5 separate regions of the Homo sapiens genome follow, and all the other regions are linked to region 2. Evidence: promoter capture Hi-C in 16 types of primary human blood cells and fetal thymus (Javierre and others, 2016). All regions are on one chromosome and are shown on one strand. The core of a region is centred on a gene start or on the middle of the fragment in contact, and the rest is flanking DNA. Distances in the headings are between cores, read along the strand shown.

Region 1 (2,700 bases), core at 200-2,699, 920 kb before region 2:
TCTATTATGTACTTAAAAATATTTACTAGCAATTGGAGGTTAATATGGCAACTATTACCGGGTGGCAATTATTGCTATTAAAAATATATAAATACTGTAACACCATGTGCTACTAACAACAAAATGCTAAACCGAAAACATACATTAACAAATTGTAAATATTTTCATTACAGAAAATGATAGCCAGGCGTAGTGGCTCATGCCTGTAATCCCAGCACTTTGGGAGGCTGAGGCAGGTGGATCACCTGAGGTCGGGAGTTTGAGACCAGCCTGACCAATATGGAGAAACCCCGTCTCTACTAAAAATACAAAATTAGCCGGGCGTGGTGGCACATGCCTGTAATCCCAGGTATTCCGGAGGCTGAGGGAGGAGAATCGCTAGAACCTGGGAGGCAGAGGTTGCAGTGAACTGAGATGGCACCTTTGCACTCCAGCCTGAGCAACAAGGCGAAACTCCGTCTCAAAAAAATAAAAAATAAAAAGAAAGAAAATGAACCATCATGGAAAAAAATGCTTTAAACATAAATTATAAAATCACAATGAACTGGTACAAAAAAATACCTTGTGTATTTTGGCACTTTGAAAATTAGAGAAATCATTCCCTTTTCCTAATTTCCATTTTATAGTCCACCCTATTTTGTTCTAGCGCAAAAAAAAAAAAAATTCAGACTTTCTACATTTACAACTACCTTCCCATTCTGCAAAAAAATCCCTTAAGACAAAAAGAAAGTAGGTCAACAATAGATTACCTTAAAAGCTTCAAATATAGAACTAATGGTCTTCAATAGGAATTATGTACTAATGGGTGTACTAGTGTCTCAATTCAGCAAGAATTTGAGATTATCACCCAATTATCCATAGTCAGGAAGATTCTAAGCAAATAAAACATGAAAGTGGAGCATACATATCTAAGAACTAGAGATCACTCCCTCATATCAAAGAGCACATATTTAAATCTAGTTAAAGGGCACAAAATCACTTTCTCCATATTAACTCAATAGAGAAAAATAAATGTCTACTTAACATCCAGAAATTATGTCTTCTCACAAGAATGAGTTCACATACCATAGGGTGCACTGTTACACTTTTCAAAAAGGCAGATTTAACACACTTTTAACTGAATGATTAACTGAGTGAATATATAAAAAGTCACCCAGAAATGTGATGGACAGCATAAGAAAATAGTTTTGAGTCAGAAAGGCACAGGCAGGCATGCACTTAATGCAGCAGCTACAAATCTCACAGCAGTTAGAATAAGAAACTTATACAATGACCCATATCATATATACACAATGGCATTTTTCACACGTTAGGAAAAGGGAATGGATGCTGAAAAATTAATTTAAGAAATTTGATTCCGTGCAGTAAAAAATCAGAAAATAAGTAAAAGACTAGCAGAAATCTTAAAGTGTCTGATTGATTGCACAATCAACTTTTGGTAAGCCATAATGAACACCTCAAGGTAATGGAAACTGGGTGGGTATTACCACGGTACAGAACTTAATCTCTTATTTCAATCTAACTAATGAGAGTATCTAGGTAAATTCTTTATAAATACTTTTCTCTGCAAAAAAAAACAAAACAAAAAAAAAAAAAACCCTGCAGGCCAAAAGAAAAAAATGCATGCTATTATTAAACCATAAAGCGTTCTTATAAAAAAACATGATTTTGAACAAGTGATTACATCTCCTTCAGAAATAACTATGATATACAATGTACTTTGGGCAACATATTTTTAATATTCCAGGTTGCTACTGCTGTATAGCATTTTCAAAAAAAAAAAATCTCAATTTGGAATCAGAAAAATGTACAAGTCAGCAGTTTAATTAATTTACATTTCTTCAATAGCACCTTATCCACACTCCACGTACAAGAGAATGAAGACATTCTACGTTCCTTTAAAAAAAAAAATCAACTAAGCATTTCTATGGTTCTCTAGTTCAAAGTTGCTACTTAAAAAATAATTCTTTTTAAAAAAGCATATTCAAAAATCAATCCCTTGGTTTAAAGAGGTTTAGGGGAGAAATATCTCAAACACAAACCTTTAGTCATTCAAAATCAAAGTACAGAATCCTCTCCTACAAAATTGCTTCTCCAAAAGAATCTCAAGCATTTTATCTCTGTAACGTTATCATCCTTACTTAAGCTTTAAAAAAAAAAAAAAAAGATAAAAGAAATGATATACCCTAAAGACTGGCTATACATATACTTTCATTTGTCTACAGAATCCGTATATACACAGCCATTACCAGTCAGCATAATATATGATAATTTGGGAGATCGCTCTACTTGGTTATTTTAATTACCTGTAAGTGTCAATGTGGTCACCAGTAACCACACAAAAACCATTTTAAATACCCCTTGATCAATATGTTTGCTAATCTATGGAAGTCCCTGAACCTGACTGATACTAAATGATAAGACTGAGGAGGGAAAAAGTTGAGGCAAAAGGGGGTTTTACTCCCACATACCAAAAAATCAAGGGAAAATTATCACAATACTAAGAGAAAGAATTCCAACTTATAAATGAATTTTAAGATTAAATATCTGGATTAAAATATTTCATTTAAAAAAATTTACCTGATTTTACTAGAGTGGGAGCAATGATACTATGTCTTTGTAGGTAAAAATCACGTGTTGATTTTTTGGTCTGCATTGTAACACATTTAATAAAGTAACACTTTCATTTGAAAAGTTGGC
Region 2 (2,700 bases), core at 43-2,542:
CACATACACCAGCAAGCCAAAGCTTAGAGCCACATCAACAGATCCTTACGTGCTCTGAAAAGAACCTCTTTGAGAACGAGGCTACAATCTTCCGCGCTTCTAACCCAGCTTTTTGCCGAACTTTATACTCTTCCAACCAATTGACGTAGTCGGTGGGGCTGTAGTGTTTCATAAGGGAAGGCCACCTACGAGGAGAGAAACACCCCCTCAGCTTAACAGAAACTCAAAGGCAGGCGGCCACGAATCCAAGGCAGCCTTGGAAACAGGGACAGCAGTGGCGTCCAGTGGTAAGAGGGACCCCGGCGAGAGACCTAGTTCAAAACCCCACCAGCATTCACTCACTCACTCCCGGTGTGACCTTGGCGTAGCGGCATGAATGATGTCTCCATTCCCCATCTCTAAAATGGGGACAGTTGTAACAACAACAACAATAATAATAATGACAATGACAGTGAGCACTGATTGAGCGCCTCCTAGGAGCCGGGGCCCTGCGTGCGTGCCTCCCGGACATCATCTAATTTAATAAACACGGTGAAAGGTAGGTCTAATGATCACCACCACTCAAAGTCTATGAACGAGGCTCAAAAAAAGGGAAGTCGCTCCCCCCAAGGTCACAGAGGGAGTGTGCAGGGCCAGATTTCATCCTGGGGCCACGCTGAAATCTGTGCCGTCCACAACCAGCCCGGGGATGCTGCGCCCGCCCGATCGATGCATCACTGGGTCCATGTAAACATTTCAGCCCGAAGTCGGGCACAAAAGAAGCGCGCAAAAGGGACGAGCCGCGCCGCCGCCAGCGTCACCCTTGACGGAGGACCCGGCTGCGAGGCGCTCCTAGATGCGCCATTTGGGGACCCGGGGGTCCGCCTGGCGTGGCCCCGCAGGGTCCGGGGCCTGGAGGCCTTTGTCTGTCTGTCCGCGGGAAGGGGTCCGGGGTGGGGTCCGCGCGCGGGGCGGCCGCGGGGAGCTAGCGGGGCGGCTGCCCGGCCCCGGGGGGCGCGGGGCGGTGGGCGCGCAGCCGGGGCGCGGGGCCGCTGGCTCACCTCACCCGGAACTGCTCCTTCCACACCTTCCCGCTGCTCTGGCACAGCTCGCGCAGCCGCCGGCAGGTGCTGGAGACACGGCCGATGTCGGCGGCCGTCAGCGAGCCGCAGCACAGGATGTACTCCAGCACCTCACCCGGCAGGTTGACGAGGCAGCTGAGGCCCGCTACCTCCGGCGCGGCCTCCTCCGCCAGCGCCGGCACCACCTCCATCGCGCTGTCGACTGCTGCCGCCGCCATCTTGTCCGCGTACCTGGGGCCGCCGCGCGCGCGCGTGCGAGAGTGCCCGGGCGCCCCGCCTGGCCCCGCCTACTGGTCTTGGGGGCGAGTCCTGAGATCGCTCCGCCCATCCGCGGGCCACACCTCCCCTGCATCGGCTGGGGGCTGCGCGGGTGGCAGCGCCGCAAAAGGGAGGACATAATTGGGCTCTGTGCTTGGAGCCGGCAGCGCAAGCCGCCTCTAGTCCGGGACAACAATAGTAGCACTGATTCTTTTAAACGTAATTAATGTTTAAAATTAACAAATAAAAATGGTATCTATTCTCACGCGTGCTGAGCGCTTTCTGTGCGCATTGGACCTTTCCGAATTACCCTGCGAACTTTCTCCCCATATTACAGATGGGGAAACAGGTTCGGAGAGTGAGAGGGCTTGCTCAGGATCCCTTGTCTTGGATTTTTTTTCCCCCTTTGGGAAGGAGTCTTGCTCTCACCCAGGCTGGAGGGCAGTGGCGCTATCTCGGCTCACTGCAACCTCTGCCTCCTGGGTTCAAGCGATTCTCCTGCCTCAGCCTCCCGTGCGGATGGGATTACAGGCGCGCGCCACCACCCAGGTTGGAGTGCAGTGGCCGTGATCTCGGCTCACTGCAACTTCCACCTCCCTGGTTCAAGCAATTATCCTGCGTCAGCCTCCCGAGTAGCTGGGATTACAGGCGCCCGCCACCACAGCCAGCTAATTTTTGTATTTTTAGTAGAGACAGGGTTTCACCATGTTGGTCAGGCTGGTCTCGAACTCCTGACCTCAAATGATCCACCCACCTCGGCCTCCCAAAGTGCTGGGATTACAGGCGTGAGCCACCGCGCCCAGCCCCTTGTCTTGGATTCTATTTCAGATCCACTTGACTTTTGCTTGTCAGTAATCTTAACCATATGATGTAATAATAACAATATTCTTGAGTGGGTGCTATGGGAAGCCCTCTATGATGGTGTAGGGGAGTAATAATAATCCTCAAATGTGTGCCCTGATTTTAGGCTAATAGAGGGCAGGCAGAGAGCTCTCCTGTACTGGTTTCTTAATTGTTTCCAGCTCAACAATCCTTCATATTTGGGGAGCATAGTCTGACCTCCCACAATAGGTACCACAGTTATACCTATTCTACAGAAAAGGCAAAGTTCTTCCAGGTGGCAGTCACTGGTTCAAAGTTACAGAGACAAAAGTGCTAAAGCCTGGATTTGAGTCTTCAAAGCGGGAGTTATCACTCAGGATTGGGAGGGTAGTCTCAGGATCTGCACATTAAAAAAAAAAAATCAGTTTAGTTCAGTGCCAAAGCCCTGTGTTGTGTGCCCTGGGGATACAGGGGTGAGAAAAATGGAGTCTTTGCTTCAAAACCTCAAAGTGCAATTACAGTTAGAAGGATCTGTTGTCAGTACATGGAGGGTCCAATG
Region 3 (2,700 bases), core at 170-2,669, 650 kb after region 2:
AGAAAATGCAGAAGGGCAAAAGAAAGAAAATCATCACCCTTAACCAAAGAACAGCTATGCTAAATATCCAAGTGGATTTCCTTCCAGACTTTTTTCCCATTTTATTTTATTTTACTTTATTTTATTTTATTTTTTTTTTTGAGATGGAGTCTCCCTCTGTCACCCAGGCCAGAGTGCAATGCGCAATCTTGGCTGTCTGCAGCGTCCGCCTCCAGGGTTCAAGCCATTCTCCTGCCTCGACGCTCTGAGTAGCTGGAACTATAGGCGTGCACCACAACGCCTGGCTAATTTTTGTATTTTTAGTAGAGATGGGGTTTCACCATGTTGGCCAGGCTGTTCTTGAACTCCTGACCCCAGGTGATCCACCCACCTTGGCCTCCCAAAGTGCTGGGATTACAGGTGTGAGTCACCACACCTGGCCTATTTATTTATTTATTGAGATGGAATCTTGCTCTGTTGCCCAGGCTGGAGTGCAGTGGCATGATCTCAGCTTACTGCAGCCTCCACCTCCTGGGTTCAAACAATTATCCTGCCTCAGCCTCTCAAGTAACTGGGACTATTGGCATGCACCACCATGCCCAGCCAAATTTTATATTTTTAGTGGAGACAGGGTTTCACCATTTTGGCCAGGTTGGACTCAAAATCCTGACCTCCAGTGATCCATCTGCCTCGGCATCCCAAAGTGCTGGGATTACAGGCGTAAGCCACCACGCCTGTCCCCATGCAGCTGTTTAAAAAATACTAAGCCAGGCATGGTGGCTTACGCCTATAATCCCAACACTCTGGGAGGCCGAGGTGGGCGAATCACGAGGTCAGGAGTTTGAGACCAACCTGGCCAACATGGTGAAACCCCGTCTCTACTAAAAATACAAAAAATTAGCTGGGCATAGTGGTGGGTGCCTGTAATCCCAGCTACTTGGGAGGCTGAGGCAGGAGAATTGCTTGAACCTGGGAGGCAGAGGTTGCAGTGAGCCGAGATTAAGCCGCTGCAATCTAGCCGGGGCGACAGAGTGATTCTGTCTCAAAAAAAAAAAAAAATTGCTAAGTAACATACCAATGTGGATGCAAATTATGGTCAATGCGGTGCTTTCTTTTTCTCTCCCAAACAATAGCTTGGGTACTTCTCACACGAGTGTATAAGTTGGTAATCAGGGAAATAATTAGAGAAAGCAAAAAGCCACCTGAGTGAAAATCATGACTATAATGAACTGGAGCCATCTCCCCTCAGCATATTTTAAAGGAAGGCAAGAATAATTTTGCTCCAAATAATAACAAATATTTTCATCCTCCTTGCCCTTTCTGCCTTCCCCCTGCATGTTCCCTGCAAGTTTCAAACATAATCATGCGCCCACAGAAGCCTCCCATCCTCCCTCAGGACCGTGGCTGGGAAGGACAGAGATACTGATGGAGAGTCAAATCTGCTGGGAATGTTCCCATCTGTGAAACTGGGCGTGCAGCCTAATCTGCCCACCACTCATATGGTTGCGAGGCTAAAACAAGATCACCTGCATGCAGGTGCTTCCTAAAACTGAAGGTGCTCTGCAAATGTGCAATATTATTTGATATTTACATGCAGCCTTTAAATAATTTCTTTTTATCTCAGTTCCAGTGTAAGCTGCTACAAAAGCCCCAAAGGGTTGCTCCCTCAAGCTGAGCAAATGGAAACACAGGGACCACTCAGAGTTAAGGAGAAAGCCATTCATTCCCACCACTTTTTTATGTGGGAAGCCTCCGCTTAACAGGAGTCAGACAGAAATGAGTTCAAACCCCGCCTCTGACACTTAGTTGCTGTGTGACCACCACCCCCCTCCCAGGCAAGGGCTCTACCTTTCTGAGCCTCAGTTTTCTTACCAGAAAATAGGAATAATAATCCTACGGACCTCATGAGGTTGTTGAAGAATTAAATGAGCAGGTGCTGCGTGACTTGGCCCAGTAAGAACTCAATCAATATTTGTCGCTGCTGTTATCATCAACCACTAGCATTCACTCAGTCACTCCGTGACTACTTCTTGCATTCCAACTCTGAGCCAGATGCAGGGAGAATTCCAACACAGGGGTTCTCAAAGCGTGTTCCCCAAACCAGCAGCACCAGCGTCGCCTGGGAACTTGTTAATGCAGATTTCTGGGCACTGCCCCGGACTGGCTGAAGCAGGAACTCTGGGAGTGGAACCCTCTGGGGGATTCTGATACATGTTGAGGTTTTGAGCACCACTGTTCTTGTGGAAAGGGGTATGAAAATAAACAAAATCATTTTAGATATGCTAGAGACTATGATAGGATAGAGAGTGGCCAGGATGGAAGTGGGACTCTGAGAAGCTGGCAGTTGGGCTGAGTCCAAAATGACAAGGAATCAGCCAGAGGAAGATTGAGGCAGGGTATTCCAGGCAGAAAGAAGGGCTGTGCAAAGGCCCTGGGGCAGGCGTTGTGAAGAAGAGAGGGTAGCTGGGTGCAATGAGCCAGTGAAAACATCAGCAGATAGGGACCAGATCGGGAGCCCAGGGACAGGACTGGGGGTCTCATTCTAAGATGTAATAGTCTGTTTGGAGCTGACTCAGTTCATGTAGTTTCATGGAACCCACAAACCTCAAAGAGTTCAGGCCCTGCCAAGCACAAGTTCAATGTCAATTCTGCACCCAATTCTTCTGCCCAGCACCTCGTGGATGCCAGGAATAAAAAGAGAAAGTGACTACAGCGCTGATC
Region 4 (2,700 bases), core at 55-2,554, 840 kb after region 2:
AGTTGCATAATCAAAACAACATCAGTAACTGCACTTTGAATCAAAACAAGCAGAAAGAGTTCAACACTTGCTGTTCATAACTGGACTGAAAATTTAACGTAAGGCTCTGTTGCCGTGCAAGTGGAATCTCTTCCTCTAAGACTGACTTTCACATGCCAGGGAGAGAAAGATCCATGACTAGTACACTGGAATCTGGTTTTGCTACATTCTATTCACAATCCCAAAGAAATGCTATTTCAATGCAAGACCAGATGTTTGGCCCATTATTCCAGCAACTCCCTTTGACAGGACGATTTACCCTGCTACAAAGAAGCACAAGATGTGGTGTTGCTTAAAAAGTCCTGTATGTGAGGAACTCTTTCATTTTCTTGGGGATTGGCAGTGCTAGGACTTGGTAAGTTGTTAGGAAACTTCGAAGGGCTTTCCGGCATAAGTGCTTCAGTGAGGACAGGACCCTAGGAGCTGTCCAGAACTGGACGTGGCCATCTCTTGTCCTAAAATGAAACAGAAACCGATGCTAAGACAGAGCTTGGATGTTCATGTTTTCATGAGGATGAATACTCATGTTTCTGTTTTGACTGCAAAGAGCAGGAGACTTCGGAGAGTGAAATGTAACCCTGACTGTGGAAATGGATGTAAAATTGTGGTGCTGAATAATTAAAGCTGCTGATAGGATTAGAAAAACTCAAGACACCTGTGATACCAAAGCGCTCTCTCTGTCTCTCTCTCGGCACAGCCCTTTCTAAATCTGACCACAGTTAGTTCAAAAGTATAAGGGGGAAGAGTGCCACCTACTGAATTATAGATGTTACCTGTAAAGTGGTCTTTTAGCCCTAAATGGTTTCCCATATATTATGCATCATCTCAATTTTATTCTCCCTTGTGAACTTGGCCCATTAGGTGGCATGACTTACAGATCTTTAATTACATTTAGGTTAAATATTCAGAGAAAATGGGACACCGTTATTAGCAAAATCGATCATTTGAGTTTTATATAATCTTGAATTGCCTTAAAGCTTTCCTCATAGGCAAGAAAATTCTAGATGGTTTCTTTCCTTAAAAAGCTCCATGGTATACTCAGCAGAAAGCACCACCCATCTGTTCAGCTAACAAATACATACCCTGTGGCAATGACTCCACCATGTGGAAAAAATGTGCAGCAAAGCCCATTGGTCATAGGAGCAAATGCAATGGGAGTTTTCAGTTCCAGGGCCCAGATCCTGAGGAGTCTGGATGGGGAGAGAGAACATCTGGATATTAGCTGACCCAGGGCCAGACCAAGAGGGCCTTGCTGCCATTACTTGCAAGCACTTGTTCTGAGGCCATGTAAAGAGAGTTCTCTTCGTTACCTGTCATCTGCCACCGTGGCAAGGTACAAGCCTTCTGGAGAGAAGCACACAGATCTCAGTGAGCTAATGTGGACGTCACTGTCATCCATGGCGGGGTCAACCTGGGTGTGGCTGGGAAGGAAAGAAACAGGATGGCAGGCCTGGAGTGATGGCTGCTCTCCACCCTCCATCATCACCCTAGGCAGGAAGCCAAACTGCCCTGGCTACAAAAGGGCTCAAGATGCATTGTGTGCCCCTCGTGGAAAAGCTTGGGATTTGCACACTGGGAAAAAAAAGGGTATCTCAGAAGGCTCCAGGTGTCCTGTGGATGAAGGGTTACTAACACTTCCTTGTGCTAATTTGCTTATGCAAAGTAGGTCAGCCCTCACTTTAATGCCACAGTAGAAACTGCAAGTCTTTTTTAGGCTAAGATACATGATAATTATAGGACTGCCTATTATTTGCTTCATAAAACAACAGACACAAAAGGAAAAAGGAGACCAAGTTTGTGAGAACATGAAACTCATTTTGGAAAGCACAGTTTCGATAAGAGGCTCTTTCTGAACTTGTTACTACAGTTATTAGTAAATGGAAATAAAGAGTCATATTGAGGCTTCATAATGCTGATTCCGAAGAAGTACACACAGCCACCTGAATCAGGAGACTGGAAGACACTCAAAGCTACTTGAGAGGGCTTAATTGACAAGGCATCACTAAGAAGCAATGAACCAGGCCAGGCGCAGTGGCTCATGCCTATAATAGCAGTTTGGGAGACTGAGGCGGTGGATCACCTGAGGTCAGGAGTTTGAGACTAGCCTGGCCAACATGGTGAAACCCCATCTCTAATAAAAATACAAAAATTAGCCAGGCCTGGTGGCGCACGCTTGTAGTCCTAGCTACTCGGGAGGCTCAGGCAGCAGAATCGCTTGAACCCGGGAGGTGGAGGTTGCAGTGATCCAAGATTGCGCCACTGCACTCCAGCCTGGGTGACAGAGCGAGACTCCGTCTCAAAAGAGACCCACTGTGCCTTTTTATCCAGCTTGTCCCCTCCCATGTCCCAGATTCTAAAAGAGACATGTCTAATCCCAGGCAGGTTCCTCATCAGTCCCCCCACAAAAAAGTCATAGCAGGGATTCAGTCCTTACTGGAGTGACCTCAGCCTTTCGCCGGTGTAGGGGTCCCACATAATCACATTGGTATCGTAAGAAGCCGTGACAAGCAGGGCAGAGTCGGGGGAGAAGTCACAAGAGACAACACTGCTTTGATGGCCCTCTAGCTTCCGAATTAACGTGTAGGACCTCATGCTCCATAGAAAGACCTGTGGAAAGTAAGAAGTGCCTGGTTAGGGCAGAAGCAAAGTGCTTAGGACTCA
Region 5 (2,700 bases), core at 84-2,583, 670 kb after region 2:
TTCTAGGGCAGTATTGCGGAATACATCTACCCTCTTGTGGTCATGTTTGTGTATTACAACAAGATACAGCTCCCACATTAAACTGATAGCCAGAAAGAAGAAAACTGTCTCAGTACAAAAAATTATCTTCAAAAATATGAGCTATGGTGCCTTTTCAACTCACCCAGGCAGGCAGGGGGCAGAGAGAGAAGAATAGTGGAGTCACTTAGAGGCTTTCTCAAATAGGGACACATTGCTGGTGAGCCCCTTTAAGAAAGGTGATGACCACGGATCTGTTTATTTCTGGTTGTTGTTTTTCTTAAATAGAGACAGGGTCTCCCTCTGTCACCAGGCTGGGGTGCAGTGAGGCCATCATATCTCACTGCAGCCTCAAACTCCTGGGTTCAAGCGACCCTCCCACCTCAGTCTCCTGAGTAGCTGGGACTACAGGCATGCACCAACATGCCTGGCTAATTTTTAAATTTTTTTGTAGAGATAGGATCTCACTATGTTGCCCAGGCTGGTCTCGAATTCCTGGCCTCAAGTGATCCTCCCACCTCGGTTTCCAAAAGTGCTGAGATTACGGACTTGAGCCACTGCACCCAGTCCAGGATCTGAAGGTACAGAATGACTCATGTTTGAAGGGGGTGATTCATAACATAAAAGGATTCTCCTCTTTGCTTCAGGATTCACTTGTGCATTTTAATCTTATGATTTATATATGTATATATTTCAATTTACTCTAAAGCTTAAGTTCAGAAAAAAATCATAAAAGTAACATTTTTATAACATCAAAAATGGAGAAACCCTTAACAAACCTGGGCCAAAAGGGCAGACACACCTCTGTTTGATAAAATAATAGTAATAATAATAGCTGAAATGGATGGAACACTGTTTTAAGGTTTTTGATAGATTTCCTTTTATTATCACAAAAACTACTGAAAGTAGGCACTTTTATCATCACCACTTACAGACTAGGACAGTAAAATTCAGAGAGGTTAGACCACTTGCCTAAGGTCACACAGCAAGTCATTGGTGGAGCCAGGATTCAAACCCAGCTGTTTTACTGTGGAGCTTTCTCCATACTTCAGTCACTTCACAGAAAGGGGACCTCTGGTGGACACATACCTGAACTGCAGACAAAGAGCAGAAACCCCACGTCTTCTCCCGCCCACTCCCTGGGTCCCTGGACTCAAGATGCTCAGTGACTAAGGCAAGAGCCAAAACTCAGGTACCTGCAGGTCAGGTAAATGTAAATGAGCAAATCGCTGCCAGACAGGAGCTCAGTTCAGCATGGTCAACATTTCTGATTTTGTAAGTGAAGCCAGAGATCTCTGGGTTTTTTAGACAGACTCTTTCGGTTTTTAAGTATTGGCTCAAAATAAATGTCCTGACATCATATTAACCAAACAACAACAACATGTCTGCATATCAGAACCAGCTTGAGGGCCACCAGTTTTCAACCCCTGGTCTAGAATCGAATCGTTTCTACCTTATTTGCCCCCACAAGTGGCACTTGATATATAAATGACTCTGAAGCCTCCAAAAGAAATGCCCTGAGCCATGCAAATACAACACTGTCTGTCCTTATACAGGACCATTCATTCTAAGGATATTTGCAAGAAACTCATCTGGCCATACTGGGAATGAAATAAGGAAATACGAGATTGCGCGTGGTCTGATGTGCATATGCAAGATGGGGTGGGGTGGGGGCCTGGAGGAATGGAGCGGGGTGATGCTGCCTCTAACTTGGGATTCTTAGATCTGGTGGGGCTGGGTGAGATTCTTGTCCCTGCGGACAAGGTCTAAAAAAGACAGGAAGCCTCTTCAAGTAGGAAGCAGGGAGCGCCTCGAGAGAGGACTCTTGGTTTCACTGGCAGGGAGGCAAGCTCCTCTTCTGCCCAGCTCTGGGGGGACCCAGGCAACAGGAAAACAAGGCTAATGCACAGTGCTTCTGACCTAAAGCTTTGCTGTCCATCTGAGCTGGACATCCTGCTAGCCCCATCCACTTGCCAGCTAGACTACTCACTTAGCTCTGAGCCTCAGTTTCCCACTCTGTACAAGGGGGATAACAGTCACACCTACTCAAAAGGTCATTGCGAGGAGGCTGAACAGTCTCAGCAGTTGAGATCCTAAGTGCAAAACCCTTTGCACAATGCCTGGCATGAAAGATGCAGTGATGTCCGCTGGTTTTATTAGGTTTGGCTTGGCCCTGTCACTGCAAATGAGTCGGTCTCTGGGATCCCAGGGGGTAAGAAAATCTCACAATCCTCAAGATGTTAAGAACGTGGTCTAATCTTTGAGAGCGGACATAAGATGTCAGATGCTCACAACAGTAACAGGCTGGCATCTACTGAGTGCTATTTGGTGCCAGAATATGAGCTGAACTTTTTTTTTTTTTTTTTTTTTTTTTGAGACAGAGTCTTTCTCTACACCCAGGCTGGAGTACAGTGGTGGGATCTCAGTTCACTGCAACATCTGTCTCACAGGTTCAAGCTATTCTCCTGCCTCAGCCTCCCGAGTAGCTGGGACTGCAGGCGTGCACCACCATGCCCGGCTAATTTTTGTACTTTCAGTAGAGACGGGGTTTTGCCATGTTGGCCAGGCTGGCCTCAAACTCCTGACCTCAAGTGATCTGCCAAAAGTGCTGGGATTACAGGCATGAGCCACCGCGCCTGGCCTGTTTTTTTCGTTTTTTGTTTTTTATTTATTTTTTTTTTT

What was found. Contacts are between HindIII fragments. The CHiCAGO score rates a contact against its expected background, and 5 or more counts as called.
Region 1: a contact is called between a fragment that was not itself captured here and the fragment with the promoter of FBXO21 in region 2, in 3 of 17 cell types (activated CD4 T cells, total CD8 T cells and naive CD4 T cells). The highest score is 5.7, in activated CD4 T cells.
Region 3: a contact is called between a fragment that was not itself captured here and the fragment with the promoter of FBXO21 in region 2, in 1 of 17 cell types (endothelial precursors). The highest score is 6.1, in endothelial precursors.
Region 4: a fragment that was not itself captured here is called in contact with the fragment with the promoter of FBXO21 in region 2 in 1 of 17 cell types (endothelial precursors); the score reaches 6.0 in endothelial precursors.
Region 5: a fragment that was not itself captured here is called in contact with the fragment with the promoter of FBXO21 in region 2 in 2 of 17 cell types (endothelial precursors and M2 macrophages); the score reaches 9.5 in endothelial precursors.

What each region holds. Positions count from the first base shown.
Region 1 is chr12:116,272,842-116,275,541 of GRCh38, forward strand. All of the region lies in intron 1 of MED13L (mediator complex subunit 13L), which reads right to left. Among named protein-coding and RNA genes, the nearest start is that of MED13L, 3.5 kb to the right of the region's middle. The HindIII fragment of the contact is 1,389 bases long and covers 756-2,144 here.
Region 2 is chr12:117,189,178-117,191,877 of GRCh38, forward strand. It overlaps FBXO21 (F-box protein 21), which reads right to left and starts at 1,293. Exons shown (of 12, transcript NM_015002.3): 1 at 1,041-1,293; 2 at 50-185. The coding sequence starts at 1,279. RefSeq lists an enhancer at 420-509 and silencers at 980-1,029, 1,310-1,409, 1,450-1,509. The HindIII fragment of the contact is 6,345 bases long and covers 21-2,700 here.
Region 3 is chr12:117,839,977-117,842,676 of GRCh38, forward strand. All of the region lies in intron 3 of KSR2 (kinase suppressor of ras 2), which reads right to left. The region is part of intron 2 of LOC105370011 (a long non-coding RNA gene); the gene reads left to right. Among named protein-coding and RNA genes, the nearest start is that of KSR2, 130 kb to the right of the region's middle. The HindIII fragment of the contact is 5,051 bases long and covers 1-2,700 here.
Region 4 is chr12:118,033,865-118,036,564 of GRCh38, forward strand. WSB2 (WD repeat and SOCS box containing 2) reads right to left here. Exons shown (of 9, transcript NM_018639.5): 6 at 2,474-2,646; 7 at 1,350-1,460; 8 at 1,122-1,229; 9 at 1-494. The coding sequence ends at 332. It also overlaps a transcript of RFC5 not described here. Among named protein-coding and RNA genes, the nearest start is that of RFC5, 19 kb to the left of the region's middle. RefSeq lists enhancers at 1,749-1,808, 1,819-1,868. The HindIII fragment of the contact is 580 bases long and covers 1,015-1,594 here.
Region 5 is chr12:117,856,773-117,859,472 of GRCh38, forward strand. All of the region lies in intron 2 of KSR2 (kinase suppressor of ras 2), which reads right to left. Among named protein-coding and RNA genes, the nearest start is that of KSR2, 110 kb to the right of the region's middle. The HindIII fragment of the contact is 1,217 bases long and covers 726-1,942 here.